Linked DNA regions of Homo sapiens: region 1 is linked to region 2. Evidence: promoter capture Hi-C in 16 types of primary human blood cells and fetal thymus (Javierre and others, 2016). All regions are on one chromosome and are shown on one strand. The core of a region is centred on a gene start or on the middle of the fragment in contact, and the rest is flanking DNA. Distances in the headings are between cores, read along the strand shown. Region 1 overlaps BOD1L1 (biorientation of chromosomes in cell division 1 like 1). Region 2 holds the start of WDR1 (WD repeat domain 1).

Region 1 (3,985 bases), core at 1,303-3,802, 3.5 Mb after region 2:
TATAAAGTATCTGAAGTTGGACGGTATAAGGCATGACTGAGATAATATCTTTGAAAGTTATTAACTATTTCTAAAAGACCAGCACTGTCCAAAATCTGTCAGCAGGGAAAAATGTTTCTTTTCACTTTCAAATATATTCTAAACTAGAAACTCATTTCACCTGAAAAATAAGCTCAGTTAAAAATAACATGCTCCTTTGATTCAAAGGAACTAACAGACTGAACAAACAAATACTGCAAACCTATGATCAGATGAGGGTTGGAATCGTGTTTGCCTTTGTATTATCATCCCGTCTTATTATCCCCATTTTATACAACAAGAAATGGAGGCTCAGAAACTGATTTTTCCTCTAAAAGTCACCCGAGGACCATGAATGCTATTTAAATTTTCTGACCCTATTTCCTCGTTTGTAAAATGAGGGTGGTAAAAAAAAAATGTATTGCTTTCATTGGGTTGTGGTAGGGTATTCTTCTTTTTGATTGACAAAAAACCTGTAGGTCAAAAAGGTTTAGTAAGTTGCAGCAGTCATGTAAATAACATGTGGACTTCCCATGCCTCAGCCTCCTGCTTTTTCTCTCCCCACACATGAGAAATGGGCCAAAGGCTTTAAACTTTTAAACACAAGTAGCTTTTAGAGAAGTTTGACCTTCAAGTTTGATGAGAGTTATTTTGCAACATTATGATATGAGAAAAAAATTTATAGATATTTTATCTTTCTGGAACCAAAACCATCTTTTGGAAGACTGTCCTAAATGCACTCTGTTGTACAATCATCCTTGTAAATATTAAAATTTGCAATTAGGTACAGATTCTCACCTATGTCACACACATTTTCTTCAGAAGACACAGTAACCATTATGTCTCCTTCCTCAGGGAATGATTTCCTTGTGCTGTTATCATCTCCTGTTTTCTCAGCAGATGCTTGATCAGTCCATTTGCCACTATAATCATTCTTTATAGTCAAGTCCTGCTCACATTTAGGAGCCAACAGAGCTACACTGTAAGTAGCTGGAGGGATCATTGTGTGGGAAGGAGCAATTTTTGATTCTTGGCCAGTAATACATTTGGTGGTACTGGTTTTCAAGTTGTCTTCAGACCCCTGCTGCTCAGCAGGAAGAAAGGAATGCTCAGCCACGGTCCCTTGAACAGGTGGCATGTCATCAGCTTTTATAGCACCGGTGTTTACTGCTGCCAAATAGCGAATGCTGACAGAGGGATCCTTAGCCGTCTGCCCAGACGTCTGTTCTGGTCCTCTCAGGTGGGCAGGTGAGTTAGCATTCCCCTCTAAGCCCCTTCCTGCTGAATAACTTGCTGTGCTACTGCCCCCTGCTGTCCCTGTCTCTGGGCTCTTATCTTCTTTCTGAAGGGAGTTCAACAATACATTCTTCTCTTCTGCATTTATGAGGTGTAAAGTGCTCTCTTTCTGTCCTCTTCCTGCAAATGGTCCTATTTCGGGGCACTCCTTGCCATGCTTCTCTTCTTTTTCCGCACAAACAGCACTTGGATGGCCTTGCCCTGCAGAGGGCTTGTGGACTGATGGCCCGTTGTGCCCCTCCTCGGTGCTCACTGCCAACACGGGACCCGGTTCTTTGCCTCCCCTGACTGGCCCAGGACACCGACAGTTATTCTCAGCAATTAGGCTGGGCATGGGGACCTTGTGCTTGCTCACTTCTGTGGCTGACAGGTCACCGTTCCCTTCTGGGTTGTCTGCAGTCAGCTGATTCTCTTCATGTCTGTCAATGCTGGCGGAAATTGGCATACATTCTGCTGTGCTGGTGGAGATGATGGCAGCATCGCTCAAGTCTTCTACTCTTGTGATGGTGAGCCGATCTTCATCCTGGAGGACAGCACCAATCATGACTGCTTCACACCCTTCAGAGGTGCTTGTGGAAATCATGGCGGTGTCACCCATCTCTTCCGCTGGTGTGACTGAGGGGTCGCCTTCCTCTTGAGGGACAGCACTGGACACTGGGCCCTCACAGTCTTCCACCGAGCTCGTAGAGATGATGCCACTCCCGTCTTTTTCTTCCATGACTGTGCCAGCTCGCTCATTTTCACTTTCAACAACTACACCGGAAACAGAAGCCTCACATTCTTCTGCTATGCTAGTGGAAATGAGAGCACATTCATCCTTCTCCTCCTTGCTGGTTGAGGCAAGAGGACTTTCAGCTTCTGGGGGCGCACTGGGCATAGGCCCCTCAAAGTCGGCGGTGCTTATCAAGACTGGACCTGTAGCCCTTTCTTCCACTGCTGCAGCAACCGGCTGAAGACTTTCAGCACACTTGATGGTTGTTGCACTGGAGATAGGCAATTCGAATTCTTCCCCTATGCTTGTGGAAATCATGGCACACTCATCTTTCTCTTCACTTCTGCTGGCAGTGAGTTGGCTGTCATCTCCTGAGACTGCACTGGGCATGGGGGCCTCAAATTCTTCTGTGGTTACTCTGGTACCTTCCATATTTTCTTCAGTTCTCAGAGCATCTGAGAGACCTCCTTCCACATCTGTAATTGCGCTTACCTGAGGGGTGTAATCATTTGTGGTACTGGTGGAAATAATCAAAACTTTGCCTTGATTTTTACCCCCTGCTAAGCTATTCTGGTTGGTAATATCACCACTGGCTGTAGTTGCCATGAGACCATCACACTCTTCATTTTCTACAGAGGTGATGATGTCCTCATCTTCTTTTTCACTTGGTGATGTGTGAGCAACTTCACATTCTGGGACTTCACCAGATACAAGAACATCGTAACTACCCCCGACCAGGCCAGTGGAAATAGTGGTATCTTCAACTTTTTCGAGCTGACTGTCACTTTGATCAGATGCAGCACTAGTCATAGGACCCTCACAACCTCCTGGAACTGGTGTCACTTCATCCTTTCCTGAGACTGCACTGGTCACACTGCTTTCTACAATCCCTTTTGCACTGGAGCAGATATCTGTGTCTTTACTTCCTTTCTCTGTGCCACTCATGCTGTCAACATTATTTTCATTTGCATTCATGATGGCAGCTCCAGCCTCAGCTTCCACATGCTCTACCACAGTACCAATCTGACTGTCCCCTTCTGCACTTTCACAAATCAAGACCCCTTCACTTTCTTCTCCTAACCCTGTACAAGTTGAAGCATGCCCAATTTCATTTCCTCTTCCAGTACTAGTCACAACATCCTCCCCTTCCTCGTCTTCCTCTTTTGCGCCTGTGCTAGTCACAATGCCTTCATCATCACAAGGACCAGCAGCAACTAATGGTACATTAGTGCCTTCTTTGGCCACTGTGCTGTCCATTGCACTCTCTCCATTTTCTTCCGATTCAGAACTTATAGCAAAGCCTTCGCTGCTATCTTCTGAACCTGTGCAACTTGCTGGCCCCTCTCCATCTTCTGTTATCCCCGTGCTGGTGACTGCACTCTCACCTTCTGTACCATCATTCACAGAACCATCTCCTTCTTGGCTGGCACTTGTTCCTGGTGGTGCATCATTATCTCCCAGGACAACACCTGCACCTGTAACCATGCGTTCCTCCCGGGGCCCTGCTCCAGTTACTGAGCAGATCACAAAGTTATCACTTCTGCCTTCTGCTCCTGTACATGTCACAGTGCCCTCTGTTTCTTTTTTGGGACCCATTCTCATCATATTTCCCTGGGAGCCATCCACCTCTTCACTGCTTATAGATCCTGCTCTTATCTCTGTTCCAGCACTTGTAACTGCTCCATCACTTTCAACTTCACTAATAAAAGTAATAGTTCCTTCAACTATTTCTGAGTCTCTACTTAAAGAACCATCACATTTTTCTTCAGAGCCTGCACTGGTTACAGCATCATCCTTTTCCTCTGTCACAACGCTATTTACATTGGCTTCGATTTTAACTGCATGCACAGCCAGTAGGTCTGCTGCTCTGTCCTCAGATTCAGCCACAGCACACTCCCCACTTTCCCCTTCCTTAGTGCTTGTGAGGAAGGTTTCACTTTCAGCAAATCCCTCTGTGAC
Region 2 (4,077 bases), core at 696-3,195:
GCAGGTAGAGCTCTGTCTTCCAGCAGAGGAACAGCAGCGACTGCCTGGGTTAACGAGACAGATGCGGGCAGAGCCAGCAGCTCTTCGGACCAAGAGGCTTCTCCTTTCACAGAGAAGGAAACTGAGACCCAGAGACCCCTTCATTCCCTCAGCCAGTTGCTGGCCTCCTGGAGGGCAAGTGTGTCCGATCAACAGTCCCAACCTACCAAGGGAAATCAGGCTGACTTTAAGTTGACAACCCTTGTATGCCTATGGCATCAATCAAAACATACATCTTTGTGCCAGCCGCCCCCACTAAGCACAGCACAGGAGAAATCACCCAATGGCCGGGCCGGCACCTCCAACTCCCACCCCACCAATTCCATCACTCAGGCTGAGGAAGGGAAAAGCAAAATTTAAGCGTGTAACCCAGGAAGGGAGGGAGACTGACAGACTGGGTCACCCCAACAATTACAGAGGAATAACATGAATTTGCAAGGATTTCCCAAGGAGCTGGCTCTAGAAGCCTTTTCAGCCTGGGTACCGGAGGCTTGCAGAGAATGATTCATGGGAAAACACTGCTTCCTGTTTTTGCTTTGGGGCTTAGATCCATGGTGGCAGATCTGGCTGGCCCAGAGGCCCGGGTGTTTTTCCGGGCTCTGCCATACTGGAAGACCAGGGTATTAACAGCGAGTTAGCTGAGTGCCATTCCATTCAGCAAGGGCTCAAAGTGCACCAGGCACCGCTGGGCTTGAGGGACGCCAGCAGCTCATTCATTCCATCTGCCCAGCCAGCAGGCGAAGCGAGAGTGGTCATCATCTCATCATCTGTTTTACAGACGAGAAAACTGGGGCTCAGAGATGCCCAAATCGCCAATCTTCTCAAGGTCACGCAGCGGCCGACCGGGTCAGTCTGATCCCTCAAATCCGGAGCCCTTGCTTTTAAGGAATGAACTAATCTAATCTCCCATCCACGTACTAACCAGGCCTGACCGTGCTTAGCTTCCAAGATCAGAGGCGATCCGGCGCTTTCAGGGTGCTATGACCGTAGACAGAAACGAACTAAGACTCAGTTTCCTCATCAAGAAGGAGCAGACAAGGACCTGGGTGAATCTGAGGCCGGCTTCCGGGGCTCCGAGGTGTGGCTCCCGGTAGAGGGGGCGTGGCGCCCTCACCCTCCCCGGGCCAATGGGCAGGAGGTGAGAAGTGGAGAGGAAGGCGAATTATCCCATCCCAAGGTGGCTCCGGAGCAGAACCGCGCCCGGGGTAGGGGGTACTCACGTCGATGTTCCTTAGGATGACGCACTTTCCATTGGTGTACAGAAAATTGTTGCCCTTAGGGTCGCCGCCGATGATCTTGGAGACGCCCCTCTCCACCTGCGGGAGGCTGGCGAACACCTTCTCTGCGGAGACACAAATGCGGCGGGGCATGTCAGGGCAGGGCGGGGACGGCGGGGACAGAAGGGAGAAGGAGCCCCGGACCGGTCTCGGCCGGTCACCTGTTGACTGCGCCGGGAGGGCGGCCTCCACTTTCCACGAGCGCCAGGAACCGCGCGACTTCCTGGTCCGCGCCCCGGGCCAGGCCCTTGGGGGCAGCGGGGCTCCTCCGGCTCGGCCCACGGCGCCAACTTGGGGGCGCACCCCCCGTCGGGGGTCCCGCCCTGCACCACCGAGGGCGGCCCCGCCACGCCTCCGGCCGGCGCCCGCACCCCTCCCCCGCGCCGAGGACTCCCCCGCCACCCGCACGGCGCCTAGGGGCCGGGGACCGGGGCCGGGGCAGCGCGGCGGCCGCTCGGGGGCCCCGCGCCGCGGCACTTACTGATCTCGTACGGCATCCTCGCCCACTTGTTACCGCGCCGCGCTCGCCGAGAGCCTCCGGGGCCGGCCCGCGCTGCGAATTACACCTCGCCGAGGCCGAGCCCGGGGACTGGAGCCGGAAGGCGGCACCGGGCGTGCCGGGAGTGGAGTGGGCGGTCCGAGGCCGGGGCTCAGAGGCCAGCTCGCGCCTGCCCTGCGCGCTGTGGTTGCGGACGCCCCGAACCCGGAAGCGCGGTCCCGCGCGCGGCTCGCCCCCAGCTTTGACCATATATAGTCAAGCGCTCGGCTCGGCGGCTGCGGTCCCGGCGAGCCTGCGCGGACCTGGCGCTCCCCTCCCCCGCCGGCCCCGGCCCCGCCTCCGCCTTGCTCGCCCCGCCCCGGAAGTGACGTATAGCACGCCCCGCGGGCCCTTGAAAAGGCGGCGCAGACAAGCAGCCGCGTCAGAATGCTTCTGGGAGTCGGGGGGTGGGTGCCTTTCTGTTGCTAGCTTGTAGGAGAAGCTGGGCTGTAGGAAGTTTATTTGCGGGGGGGTCTTAAAGACGCTGAAAGTACTGGCGGGCTTTGGTGGGGGTCTGGAAAAACCTCTCTGTACCTGTGACCGCGTTGCGTGGCGGGCGCTCCCCGGCCTCTCCTTTTTGACCGGTCCCGGGCGTTGCCCAGCCGCCAGTCCTCCTGCTCGGGTTTTGTAAGCAGGAGAGGGATGCTTTTTACGTCTTCTTAAAGTACGGTTAAGTGCCCTTGCTTGAAGTAGTTGCTGGCAACAAGAACGTAGGGGTTACTCTTTGTTGGGCCTGAACTCGTGCTTTTTCTCTCAAAAGTTGAGCTTTTGAAAGGCAAAAAAGGCGTGGGGGATGGGGGAGCTGTCGGTCTTAAGGAAGTTAAAGGTTATTTCCTAAACAAAACAAGTCTCACTCCTAAAACCAGGGTAGTGGCTCAGTTGTGGCGGGAGAGCAGGGGCTGTAAAGTGTCCAAGTTTCTAGTCTCATCTTTCAGTAGGATGGGTACAAGCTTTCCCCTTGGGGCTCTGGGGGCTGGGAGGGTTGTAAAAGTGGGAGAAAGCAAAGTATTTGGCGGGGTGCGGGCGGGTAGCTGAATGTTGTTGTAAGTGGAAGAGGAATGCTGTTGGCGTCTTTCTCTAAGCACGGTTAAGTGCTTTTTCTTGAAGTAGTTACTGGCAACAAGAACGTAAGGGTTACTCTTTGTTAGGCCTGAACTCGTGCTTTTTCTCAAAAGTTTAGCTTTTGAAAGGCAAAAGTGGGGGTGGGGGCGCTGCTGCTTTTAAGGAAGTTAAAGGTTATTTCCTAAGAAAGCAAAACAAGCCCCACTTGTAAAACCCGGGTAGTGGCTCAGCTGGAGAGCAGGCGCTGTGAAGTGTACAAGTTTCTAGTCTCATCTTTCAGTAGAATGGGTACAAGCTTTCCCTCGGGGCTCTGGGGGTGGGAGGGTTGTAAAAGTGGGAGAAAGCAAAGTACGTGGGTGGGGGGTAGCTAAATGTTGTTGTAAGCGGGAGATGGATGCTTTTGGCGTCTTTAAGCACGGTTAACTGCCCTTGAAGTAGTTGCTGGCAACAACGTAGGGGTTACTCTGCTGGGCCTGAACTTGTGCTGTTTCTCTCTCTCAAAAGTTAAGGTTTTTAAAAGGCAAAGGCGTGGGGAGAGGGGTAGGGGAGCTGCTACTTCTAAGGACGTTAAGGGTTACTTCAGAGCAAAACAAGCCCCACTTCTAAAACCAGGGCAGTGGCTCAATTGTGGAAGGGAGAGCAGGGAATGTGAAGTGTCCAAGCTTCTAGTCTCGTCTTTCAGTAGCGTGGGTACAAGTTTTCCATTGGGGCTCTGGGGGCTAGGAGGGTGGTAAAAGTGGGAGAAACCAAAGTACTTGCGGGTAGCTAAAAACTCTGAAACCCACGCTGTGAGCGGTTCCTGCTTCTCTGAAAGGTCTGTTCTGCTTAAGGTTGTATCAAGGTTAGTCTCTTGCTACCTACTTCTGTAGAGCAGTCTCTCGTGGCTCACCTGGGTTAGTGGCCATGTTGCCTGTCTCCTATTCTTCCTAACCTTGTGTGTTCTCCAGGTAGCTGAGTGATCCATCCGAAGTAAAATATTCCTCAGCTTGTCTGTAGGGGCTCCAAGTTTCATGAAGTAAAAGCTAGTCTTGAAAACGGCCCATTAGGGTCCTGGATGACAGTCTCCGGGTCACTTAGACTCCGTTGTCCGCCTCCCCTCATCTGTATCATCTTTGCCTTGGGTACTGGCTTCGGAGGGTGTTTTCCTGAAACTCTTACCTG

The links. Contacts are between HindIII fragments. The CHiCAGO score rates a contact against its expected background, and 5 or more counts as called.
Region 1: a fragment that was not itself captured here is called in contact with the fragment with the promoter of WDR1 in region 2 in 1 of 17 cell types (neutrophils); the score reaches 5.2 in neutrophils.

The regions. Positions count from the first base shown.
Region 1 is chr4:13,598,130-13,602,114 of GRCh38, forward strand. It overlaps BOD1L1 (biorientation of chromosomes in cell division 1 like 1), which reads right to left. Exons shown (of 26, transcript NM_148894.3): 10 at 817-3,985. Among named protein-coding and RNA genes, the nearest start is that of BOD1L1, 28 kb to the right of the region's middle. RefSeq lists enhancers at 1,033-1,533, 1,534-2,034, 3,127-3,196. The HindIII fragment of the contact is 5,971 bases long and covers 1-3,985 here.
Region 2 is chr4:10,114,854-10,118,930 of GRCh38, forward strand. WDR1 (WD repeat domain 1) reads right to left here and starts at 1,946. Exons shown (of 15, transcript NM_017491.5): 1 at 1,798-1,946; 2 at 1,260-1,381. The coding sequence starts at 1,813. It overlaps LOC124900666 (a long non-coding RNA gene), which reads left to right and starts at 2,236. Exons shown (of 2, transcript XR_007058030.1): 1 at 2,236-4,077. It also overlaps the pseudogene RNA5SP155. RefSeq lists enhancers at 803-1,607, 1,258-1,407, 3,178-3,277, 3,358-3,447 and silencers at 1,488-1,637, 1,718-2,127, 2,138-2,257. The HindIII fragment of the contact is 9,752 bases long and covers 1-2,802 here.